4 separate regions of the Homo sapiens genome follow, and all the other regions are linked to region 4. Evidence: promoter capture Hi-C in 16 types of primary human blood cells and fetal thymus (Javierre and others, 2016). All regions are on one chromosome and are shown on one strand. The core of a region is centred on a gene start or on the middle of the fragment in contact, and the rest is flanking DNA. Distances in the headings are between cores, read along the strand shown. Region 1 overlaps NRP2 (neuropilin 2). Region 2 overlaps FAM117B (family with sequence similarity 117 member B). Region 3 overlaps NRP2 (neuropilin 2). Region 4 holds the start of CTLA4 (cytotoxic T-lymphocyte associated protein 4).

What was found. Contacts are between HindIII fragments. The CHiCAGO score rates a contact against its expected background, and 5 or more counts as called.
Region 1: a contact is called between a fragment that was not itself captured here and the fragment with the promoter of CTLA4 in region 4, in 1 of 17 cell types (M0 macrophages). The highest score is 6.1, in M0 macrophages.
Region 2: a fragment that was not itself captured here is called in contact with the fragment with the promoter of CTLA4 in region 4 in 1 of 17 cell types (total CD4 T cells); the score reaches 5.5 in total CD4 T cells.
Region 3: a fragment that was not itself captured here is called in contact with the fragment with the promoter of CTLA4 in region 4 in 2 of 17 cell types (M2 macrophages and M0 macrophages); the score reaches 5.4 in M2 macrophages.

Annotation. Positions count from the first base shown.
Region 1 is chr2:205,711,241-205,713,940 of GRCh38, forward strand. All of the region lies in intron 2 of NRP2 (neuropilin 2), which reads left to right. Among named protein-coding and RNA genes, the nearest start is that of NRP2, 30 kb to the left of the region's middle. The HindIII fragment of the contact is 698 bases long and covers 1,038-1,735 here.
Region 2 is chr2:202,645,913-202,648,612 of GRCh38, forward strand. All of the region lies in intron 1 of FAM117B (family with sequence similarity 117 member B), which reads left to right. Among named protein-coding and RNA genes, the nearest start is that of FAM117B, 12 kb to the left of the region's middle. The HindIII fragment of the contact is 547 bases long and covers 1,093-1,639 here.
Region 3 is chr2:205,694,864-205,697,563 of GRCh38, forward strand. NRP2 (neuropilin 2) reads left to right here. Exons shown (of 17, transcript NM_003872.3): 2 at 2,681-2,700. Among named protein-coding and RNA genes, the nearest start is that of NRP2, 14 kb to the left of the region's middle. RefSeq lists an enhancer at 601-1,435. The HindIII fragment of the contact is 9,122 bases long and covers 1-2,700 here.
Region 4 is chr2:203,866,349-203,869,048 of GRCh38, forward strand. It overlaps CTLA4 (cytotoxic T-lymphocyte associated protein 4), which reads left to right and starts at 1,423. Exons shown (of 4, transcript NM_005214.5): 1 at 1,423-1,703. The coding sequence starts at 1,595. The HindIII fragment of the contact is 240 bases long and covers 1,290-1,529 here.

The DNA.
Region 1 (2,700 bases), core at 137-2,636, 1.8 Mb after region 4:
GGGAAGTGTCGTAAATTCAGCAGTGAAGAGGCAAGGTCCTTGCCTTCATGGTGCTTATTGTCTGGTGCAGGAGACAGATCATAAACAAATAGGTATATTGACAAGACCTTTCCAGATTATAATCATAGCTATGAAAGAAGTAAGATGATGGTGAGATAGAGAATAAGGGCATGCCATCTGAAATAGGGTGGTGACAGCAGGCTTCTCTGTGGAGGTAACATTTGTCCTTAAGCCTGAAGGATGAGCAACAACCAGCCCTGGAAAGCACCAATGAGGAGTACTGCAGGCAGAGGAAAGAGCGCTTGCAAAGGCCCTGGGGTTGGAAAGAGCTCACCATATACAAAATGTCTTCAACATCTTATGATCTTATGATGAGCAGTGTGAAAGGAGGCCTTGCTTGGTTGGCAAAGGTTATGATGTCAGGACTTGGGCAGAGATGTTCTGATACGTAGACCCAAAAGAAGGGGCAGAGTATTCTTCCTCCGAAGACCTAAGTACTCTATCTTCGATACAGAAATCCCCTTCCAAGTGGTTCTGTGTGGCATCCCTAAAGCTGGATTCTGACAAGGGCCAGACATTTCGGTGCCCTGAGAGAAGGACCTAAGCTTGGTGAATCTTCCAGCACAGGCTCCGTTGACTAACCCAGCCTTTGGTGCCCTGCTGGGAAGTGTCAAGCGTGGAGACAGTTATGGAAACTAGAAAGCCCTTTTTCATGTTTGCCTAGTGATGAGAGGAAGAGATGAGATTGTTGCTTTTTCATATCTCTCCCGTGGACTCTTAAAATTAACTTCACTGTCAAAATTTCCCATGGCCCAAATGTAGGTTTGGGGAGAGAAATGTAAGACTTTGAAGTTGAGAAAGAAAGTAGAGAAAGCATTCTCTAGACAAATGCTCACCATGCAGACTTCAGAATCTGTGAGGAGACAAATAAAAAGGCACTCGGGGAACCGTTTTAGAGAGAAAATAAAGAACTGGGAGTAGAGATGGCTACTTCAGCTCAGGAAAAAAATAAATAAAACAATACAAGGTAGTGTTAAAGCTTTGAAAGGAATTTTTCGTTTAGGAGAGATTATGGATAATGAAATGCAAACACTCTAGTTAATATGTCTGTTAGCTGGTTTATGTTGCCTTCTGGAAAACGAGTGATACGTTCTAAGAGGAGCAGCTTTTCAAGTTATCCTACTTGACTATCGTTGGGGTGAGCTCTGAGTCTGTACCCCGGATTCCTTTACCAAACACTGGATATTAGACACTAGATGCAAAGCCGTATTTATTCCAAAGCCAGAAACTTCCTAAGCCTCTGCCTAACTCTTCACAAATGAACCTGACAACACTGAAATTTCTAAGGAGATTTACTCCAGCTGTAGCAAATCCCTCATAATAAAAAATTTCCCCAAATGAGTCAGTCACACAGGAGGTAAATGAGACATTCTGTATGAAGTCAGCATGTCATTTGGAGTGTGCCCTTTATATAAAAGGCCCAGCCAGAAGACCATGTGGTTAAGTGGGGCTTGTCCACAGGGCAGAACCAGAAGACTGGAAGTTGGGGGGATTTCAGCTGCCGAACTGTAACTCTGTGTCACTTCCCCTCAAGCAAACCTTATAGAAAAATCTAGTTTTTCTAAGAAGTTCAAGTAAGGTTTGTTGATTATTTGCTTCACAAAAGGATTCAGCAGAGGGGTCCTTTAACTAACAAGCTCAGAGAAAAAATTTATAGTATGATTGAATTATATGAAGCTTTTTCAAAAATGCATCCCTTCTCTATATGTGTGTTAGATACATAAGGATGTATTTGTTGCAGGCAGCATTACAAGAAGGGATTTGGGGTGGTCTGTATCCGTTGAGTAAATTGAGGCAAGCTTGTAACAGTGGCATTTGTTGGGCAGCCCTGCTTCATTGCTGATTCTGTTAATCCCCTAAATGACTCCATGGGTGATTAGGCAACCAGATAAAACCCTCTCACTTCTGATGAACAAGCCAGTGGGATGGCAGGGCCTCTCTTTGTCCTTCCTAGAGAAATTGGCAACACAAAGACTGGAACTATCTGGTGAAGCTTTAAAAAAAAAGTTTAAAAAATTATTTATTGAATGTGGGTCATGTCCTTGGCACTGTTCCAGATGTCCCGACCTACTGTGTCTCATTTATTCCTCACTCCAGTTCTGTGACATGGATGATGATGGTGATGATGATGAACTTCCTTCTACATCTGCTAAATCATGACAGCTGGATTCTTTTACAAAGAAGAGAGAAAAAATTACCAATTATCCTACCACCCATGTCTGTCGCCATTGTTCATATTTTAGTAGTCTTTCAGACTTCCTCTGTATGTTTATGTGAGGAAATGTATGTATACCTTTTAAAACATACTTTTAAAAAATCTCCTTTTTAAAAAGTTAACAGTATAGCGTGAACATTTTTCCATAAAAACAAAAAATTCTAGACCTGCAGACTATTGATTGTAGCAGGAGAGTATTCCATTTTATAAATATCCCAGATGGATTCACCCTCCCTCTACGGTTGGGCTTTGAAACCATTTATAAGCAAAATATCCTCCCACTTTTTATATTTTTTCAAAATATATGCACAAAGATGCATATGCATCTTTGCACAATTGTCTGATTATTTTCTTAGGAAAAATTCCTAGCAGTAGGATTGCTGGATTAAAGGCTATGTACATATTAACTTCTGTCACATTTCACC
Region 2 (2,700 bases), core at 116-2,615, 1.2 Mb before region 4:
TTATTTTTATCTTGTATTCGTTTTATTGATTTTTACATTTTGGCCATTATACTTCAGTTCTTCAAGAGCACTTGCCTTGCTGTTTGTTCTTTGTCCTGTTAATGCCTAAAAGTTTTTTGTTTTTTTTTTTTTGAGATGGAGTCTTGCTCCGTTGCCCAGGCTGGAGTGCAGTGGCACTATCTTGGCTCACTTCAGCCTTCGCCTCCCGGGTTCAAGCAATTCTCCCACCTCAGCCCCCTGAGTAGCTGCGACTACAGGGGCACACCACTACACCTGGCTAATTTTGGTGGGTTTCACCATGTTGGCCAGGCTGGTCTTGAACTCCTGACCTCAAGTGATCCGCCTGTCTCCACCAGCCAGAATGTTGGGATTATAAGCGTGAGCCGCTTGGCCTGGCCACTTTCTATTAATATTTAAGTGAGACATTAAAATGCTGATTAAATGTTTTCTGTGTTTAGATCAGGCTGCTTGTCTGGAGCATGTTACTCTAGAAAGAAGACGCAGGGACTCCCAAAAGTAGGTTTTTTTTCTTCTCTTGGGCCAGTTTCCCCAGGGAAGAGACCTCAGTATCATGCCTAAGGATATGTGTAGTGTCCTTAAGTCCAGAGCCTGTCTCGTTAATTTCTATAGCGCAGATTTTCCCAATCTTTTTGTTCTGGAGACTCCTTGGCATCGTTTCCATTTCTCAGGGAACCCAGGCATTTGTCACCAGGAAGTTGAGATATATTGCTCTAGTAATAATTTATGCTCTTTTGAGTACGAGTGGTTTCTCTATGAATCTGTTTATTTGACCATCTTATTAGCCTATTCATTTTGTATGGTTTTCCTCTCTCCCCTAAGGATATCATCATTATTGCAAGTGAGTAGTGAAGTAAAGGAAACTTTAGTTTTTCCTTCTAAAGAAATTCCTGTATGATTTTTTTTTACCTTGTTTAAGTGATAACAATAGTTTTATCCCCAGTTTTTAGTATACAAGATGCTAATGAGATATTATGTGATCTAGGGTATGTACAAGAGGCACACCCCCAGCCAGCTTTTAAGACTAAACATGTTATTTTTAACTAACTTTTTTTGGGGGAAAATGTGCAGTTAAGCTTAGCTTACCTTTCTTGAAATTAATCTCTTCCCTTTTCTTAGATTTTTAAAAACTTATAAGGCAACCATAATGTTTTGATTAAATAATTTATATAAGACAAAATGGGATTTATTTTTTCTAAAGGTATATTTAATTTAAATGAACTTAGTAAAGTTATTTTTTACAATAGGAAAATTTATAATGTTTATAGTAAAAGCTACTAAAACCATAAAGCAAGGCAATATAAAAAAATATAGCTTAACACAATTTTATCTGAGAGCTTCAAAAATTTCTTTTTCTGTAACAAGATCTGTGTCAAATATAGGTCTAGCAGAATTATTAATGTGTGGCGATTTCTTGGTCTCTATTCTAGACCTGTACATAAAAAGTGATATTTTCAAAACTGAAAAAAACAGTTTATTTATTTCAACAAAACGTGTATATATATTTTTTTCTGTACAAATACTCAGTTCTGGGTTGAGCTTGAAATGAGCACACCCAGATTTCATATTCAACTGAAATGAAACTTTCTTCTTTGATCTTGATGCTTGTTAAACAAGAAGAAGCTTGTTGATGCATATGAGAATTTGAAAACTACAGCAAAATATTCATCGCTTACATGTGAATGACAAGACTTTATTCTTTCCATAGAAATCTAGAACTTATTTTGGGGCAGATGAGGAAATCTTGGGTGGAGCATAGGATCAGGCTGCAGCAAAGTTATCACCTAAACATCTGCTTCCAAAACAACTTGGTTGAAAACTTGTTTTTGCTCTTGCCTCTTTTCCCGTGTATTGTTCTAGTGAGTTTATGTATTTTTATTCTGTTAGTATTATTTAATAGGAAGTATCTGACATTTTTTTGATTGAGGCTGGCATGTAGCAGTTGAGATGAAATTAGTGCTAGTTTAACCCAAAAGAAATTTACTGACATTTTTCTTCTTCTTCATGAGCTAGTATAGGCTGCTGCTTGGAGTCTTCGCCCTCAAGGAACTAACTCTGTAATTGTATGGTTTAATTTACCTACCAGAATGTGTCTCTCTTTCCTCTCCTCTCTCCCCTACTCCATTCTTTCTTTGCAGGCAATAATGTGCACATGATAAAAATTATAAATGGTAAGGAGAATACAGTCAGCAGTCTTCTTGCTGTTTGTCTCAGTTCATTCTTCTCAAGAGAAATCCAGTTGTTTCTTTGTATAATTCCAGAGCTATTCTATGTATATTCAGATATATGCATATGTCAGCTGGGCTTGTTGGCTCATGCCTTTAATCCTAGCACTTTGGGAGGCCGAGATGTGTAGATTGCCTGAGCTCAGAAGTTCGAGACCAGCCTGGGCAACATGGTGAAACCCCGTCTCTACTAAAATACAGAAAAAAATTAGCCGAGTATAGCGGTCGGTGTGCGCCTGTAGTCCCAACTATTTGGGAGGCTGAGGCAGGAGAATTGCTTCAACCTGGGAGGTGGAGGTTGCAGTGAGCCAGGATTGCGCCACTGCACTGCAGCCTGGGTGACAGAGCGAGACTCTGTCCCCACCCCCCCCCCAAAACAAAAAATACATATATATATATGTATGTATGTGTGTGTGTGTGCGTGTATGTCGTTGTGCACATAGGTTTATAGTGGACC
Region 3 (2,700 bases), core at 31-2,530, 1.8 Mb after region 4:
GTTTCAAGAATTCTGTTCTCTCCAAGAAAAATAAAAACAGAAATTCTAGTATTTATCTTTGTGGATATATGTTTGTGCAAATGATGTGTGATATTTTATGAGAAGGTGTGAACGTATGTATAGGACTAAAGTGTGAATTACTGATATGTATATGTACTTGAAGTATGTTCAATATCTATGTTTGTGTGTGTTTCTGGGTGTGAATGCAAGCCAAACAAGAATGTGAATTTATAAATTTGTAAGTATTGAAAAGGTTACCAACACACAACTGAAGCAGATGTTCTAATGAGTTCTCTGATACTTCAATAACTGCCCTGATTTTCTCCAGGTAAAGAAAGGATAGAAAAAAAGCAATGGATGACTCCTTTTTCTTTTGGTTTAACAGCAGACAGTACAGACTATCAGCTATGGGATATATATATAGTTTAATTTTTTTGTGTGGTGGTGGTGAAGAAATGATCACTTCTGCTGTAGATGAGAAATTAAACCTTCCTGCGAAGAAGTTTCCTGTCTTTATTGCTGATCTGTGTGCCTGGTCTAATTACTAAAAGTTTAAACCTGGGGTGTGGGGAATTGAGGGAGAAAAGTTCCCCTTTCAAGAGTAATTGGAGAGAAGTAGAGGAAGGGATGGGGAAAGGAGGGAGAGAGTGTGGGTAGGGAGAGTGGAGAGTATGTGGAAACCATAACAGTTACTAAACAGGAGCTCAGCTCAGGTTTCCTCTGACGAATTCCAAGGCAAAAAAGTGTGGTTTGGGGTGAGTTGGTGGCAGGGCTGCAGTTTTCTGCAAAATATCTGGCAGAGGAGCTGGACCCGGTAGAAAATTCCCCCTTCTGCTAGTTGAGTAAGAGCAGCTGGTGATCTATGTCCTCACACCTCTGCCTTCTCAGAGGACCACTCCACCCTATTTCATGTGCATAAGCCAGGACCAACGGGCCTCAATTTGGCTGGCTAGATGACATTAGGTTCCCAGCATGGGTGAGTGGTGTGGGCACCTGGAAAGCCTATGGGTATTGGCTGCAGAGGAGCTGGGCCTCATGGCTGGCCTCATGTGGTCTGGGTGGGAGGGATGAGCTCATTGTCTTCATGGGCTGGGGTGGGTGCAGGGTCATTAGGTAAGAAGATGATGTGCTGTGTACCAGCCTGAGGAAACGGCTGCTTTTGTTTTCCACCCAGTAGGAAATGGACCTGAATTCATTCCATTCTGGGCAGTTCAATACGGCACAGTTTGAGCTCGTGGAGGCTTGATGCCGAAAAGGCTACTTGTGTGGATTTGTGTCCCAACCACCCGTGTGCAGCGTGCCCATCTTTTATGCATTTAAAGCCTGTCAGGCCGGTAGTCTAAAGCAGAGGTCTGGGAGATAGTAATGCCAACAGACATGGGGAATAGTAAAGTGCACCTGTAGAGTTAAAAAATGCATGACCTGTTCCCTCAAAGAGTGAACACAGGAGAAAGACCCATCCTGGAGGGCGGCTGCTGAGTCGTAATACATAATTCACGGGCCCATGCTGCTCCATGCAGATGGCGATATTAAATCGTGATTGATGCTAAGAGACACACACATCTCAGGAAGGTCTCCGAGAGGCTTCTGAATATTTCCATGTCTCATGTGCCTTCCCAGCTTCTGTTCTACTGTGGTATTTAAGCAAAACTCCCTATTTCCCAAGAATCCCTGCTGGGGATTGCAGAACTTTACTCCCGAATAGATGAGATTCCTCAAATGTCATCACCCACCTTTGGAGCCTTTGAAGGTGGCTCCCTTCCCTCCCAGGCCACATGAAGCTGTCTGCCTCCAGCCAGGCACTGCAGGTACAGGGAGCCAGCCCTTCCTGCAAACGGCCAGTTATGGCTGGACAAAGCAGCAGCACACTCTGGTGGTGGTGACCAGGCAGGAGGGACAGTGGGCAGACAGCGCAGAAGAAACAGATGTTCATTCAACACAAAGCACCTTTGTCGAAATTCCAAGGCTAGAGCCAGTAGATTCTCTAATACAGATTTTTCCATTCGGTGTATAATGAAATAATAAATCAAATTTGTGGTATATATGGAATTAAATGTTTGGGGGGTTTGCATTTTTTTTCTTAAAAAAAAATTTAAAAAGGCTGCAATCACCCTCCAGGGCCTGTTCTGGCCCAAAGCTGAAAGTGCTTCCTCTGCACCACATGTAATTGTTACCAGGCTCGCTTGTGGGTCGGCACCACAAAACCACCATTGTCAGTTCCCAGAGCCCTGACTGCTGGCTGCCTGGGCTGGGCTGGGAGACACCGAATAAAATGAAGGATTTATGAGATAAAGATAGAGATAGGAGGTTGAATGAGGAGAGGAAGATGGGCCAAGGAGGGGAGGCAGGAAAGGCAGGGAGGCATGTTGAGTTTGCAGTCCTCTTGTTTTTTTAATCACAGACCATGTAATTGAGAATATTTATGGCCATGTTCTGGAATACTTTCATCTGTGTGTGTGTGTGTGTGTGTGTGTGTGTGTGTAGTTGGGTGGGTAGGGGGAGGGATGAGCCGGAATAATCTCTTCCACCGAATGAGTAAGTAGGTTAGTCTTCTGGACTGCCATAAAAGGTCTGTAAAATAGTTTTAATCAGACACTGGTACAGAAGAGAAGGAGGGAGTGTGGGGGGAAGAAAGTTGTAACATATTTGAAGTTCTTTGGGTCGTTGATTTCTCTTTCAGACCCACCGTGCGGAGGTCGT
Region 4 (2,700 bases), core at 173-2,672:
TGAGCTGGGGCTTGAAGGTTTCTATAATGTGTAGCAGTGTATAGAAAACAGGCAGGTCAGAAAAGGCTTCTGTGCATCACACCAACATGGCACATGTATACATATGTAACAAATCTGCATGTTGTGCACATGTACCCTAAAACTTAAAGTATAATAATAATAAAATTTTAAAAAAAAAAAGAAGAGGCTTCCTGGAGGAGATGACAGCTGAGCTAAGTCCTGGAGGATGAGAAGGAGTATAAAATAAGATAATAGGAGAAAAAAGGCAGTAGGAACAGCATGGGTAAAGGTGATGAGGCCTGAAAGAGGCACGTGGAAGGAAAGACAAATGCAGGAAGGGGGAATGGGAGGGAATGCTGGGGTACAGGCCAAAGAGGGAGGCATTTGGTGAGTATTCTGCAGAGTCTCCTCTGCTGTGCTGAGGTGTGGACAATGGGAAACCATGGACGGACTGGAGTAGGCAAATGTCATATTCCCTGTTACAACTGTCTGTTTGCATGTCAGCCTTCTAGAAGCCCCTTAAGGTATCAACTATGTTTTTGTTTTGTCATCATTCAATCCTAAGTGCACAGAATTCCGGGCATATTACAGGTTCCCCATGAATGTTTCTTTCTTTATTAAAATGTATGAAAACTCTCCAGATTTAAGGAAGGTCCTCAATGTTTCAAATTCTTTTTGTTAGATCATTGGTCCTGTCTACAGCTGTCACAAATTTAAGGACTCTGGTTATATTTAATCTTCACTTTTGAATTTTCTGCTTGAAAAATTTGTATTAGAAAAAAAAGTCTATCCTTTTATGGACGGCTCTAATCTCTTGAATCATTTGGGTTGGCTTTTCTTTGGACCTTCTTCAACTCTGTTTTGTCTCTGTTGAGTTAAGGCTTTTAAGAACACCTGAATTCTTTCCTTCTGCAAAACCAGAGGCAGCTTCTTTTCCGCCTATTTTCAGTTTATTTCTTGTGATTTTAGTTTTTTTCTCTTAACCAAATGCTAAATGGATTTAGGAGAAATAAACTTATTTGTAAAGCTGTCAAGGGACCATTAGAAGGATGGTGCTTCACAGATAGAATACAGTTTTTATTAATGATGCCTAGACAAATCCTGCCATTAGCCCAAGGGCTCAGAAAGTTAGCAGCCTAGTAGTTTTGGAGTTGTCAATGAAATGAATTGGACTGGATGGTTAAGGATGCCCAGAAGATTGAATAAAATTGGGATTTAGGAGGACCCTTGTACTCCAGGAAATTCTCCAAGTCTCCACTTAGTTATCCAGATCCTCAAAGTGAACATGAAGCTTCAGTTTCAAATTGAATACATTTTCCATCCATGGATTGGCTTGTTTTGTTCAGTTGAGTGCTTGAGGTTGTCTTTTCGACGTAACAGCTAAACCCACGGCTTCCTTTCTCGTAAAACCAAAACAAAAAGGCTTTCTATTCAAGTGCCTTCTGTGTGTGCACATGTGTAATACATATCTGGGATCAAAGCTATCTATATAAAGTCCTTGATTCTGTGTGGGTTCAAACACATTTCAAAGCTTCAGGATCCTGAAAGGTTTTGCTCTACTTCCTGAAGACCTGAACACCGCTCCCATAAAGCCATGGCTTGCCTTGGATTTCAGCGGCACAAGGCTCAGCTGAACCTGGCTACCAGGACCTGGCCCTGCACTCTCCTGTTTTTTCTTCTCTTCATCCCTGTCTTCTGCAAAGGTGAGTGAGACTTTTGGAGCATGAAGATGGAGGAGGTGTTTCTCCTACCTGGGTTTCATTTGTTTCAGCAGTCAAAGGCAGTGATTTATAGCAAAGCCAGAAGTTAAAGGTAAAACTCCAATCTGGCTTGGCTGGCTCTGTATTCCAGGGCCAGCAGGGAGCAGTTGGGCGGCAGCAAATAAGGCAAAGAGATAGCTCAGAACAGAGCGCCAGGTATTTAGTAGGGGCTTCATGAATGCATGTGAGTTGGTTTAGTAGAGAGACACAGGCAATTTCAGACCCTTCTATGAGACTGGAAGTGATTTAAGAGGGAAAGGATAGCCATAGTCCTGAATACATTTGAGCTGGGTTTCAGGATGAGCTCACAAGTTCCTTTAAAAAAAATTGACTTAAGCAAATCCTGGGAAGAGTTTTTTTGCTATACAATTCAAGGTTTTAAGGTCCTCGGATTCATATACTTTATAAATGAATTAGCCAGCTTGTTTAAAATGTAGGGAAATTGTGGGAAGAATGCCTTCTTTACTTAATTCAAGGTTTTAAGGTTCTCTTAATCAATTCTACTAGCTAATTAGCCAATTATTTAAAAATAAAAGTTTGAAATTGCCAAAAAAAAAAGACAAGGAAAAGGAAAGAAAGAAAGCCACCAGTCTGTTTGGCATACAATACTTAATTGTTGCCTGACCTACGTGTGGGTTTCAGATGCAGATCCTCAGTTTTCAGCTCTTCAGAGACTGACACCAGGTTTGTTACACGGCTTAAAATGATGAGTATATCCATTGAATCTCAACCTTATCTCTCTCTAGACCTTCTTGGTTAAGAAACCATGTAGTTTGTATGAAGTAGGTACTCAAAAGATATTTGATGATTTAATTTTTACTGGAGAAGAAATATTCATATATGTTTTCTTATTTTTACATGTTTTAAATATGTAAAGATTAAATAAACACTCTTAGAAGTATTTAAATTTCCTAAAGTAAATTTATCTCAACCAGTAACA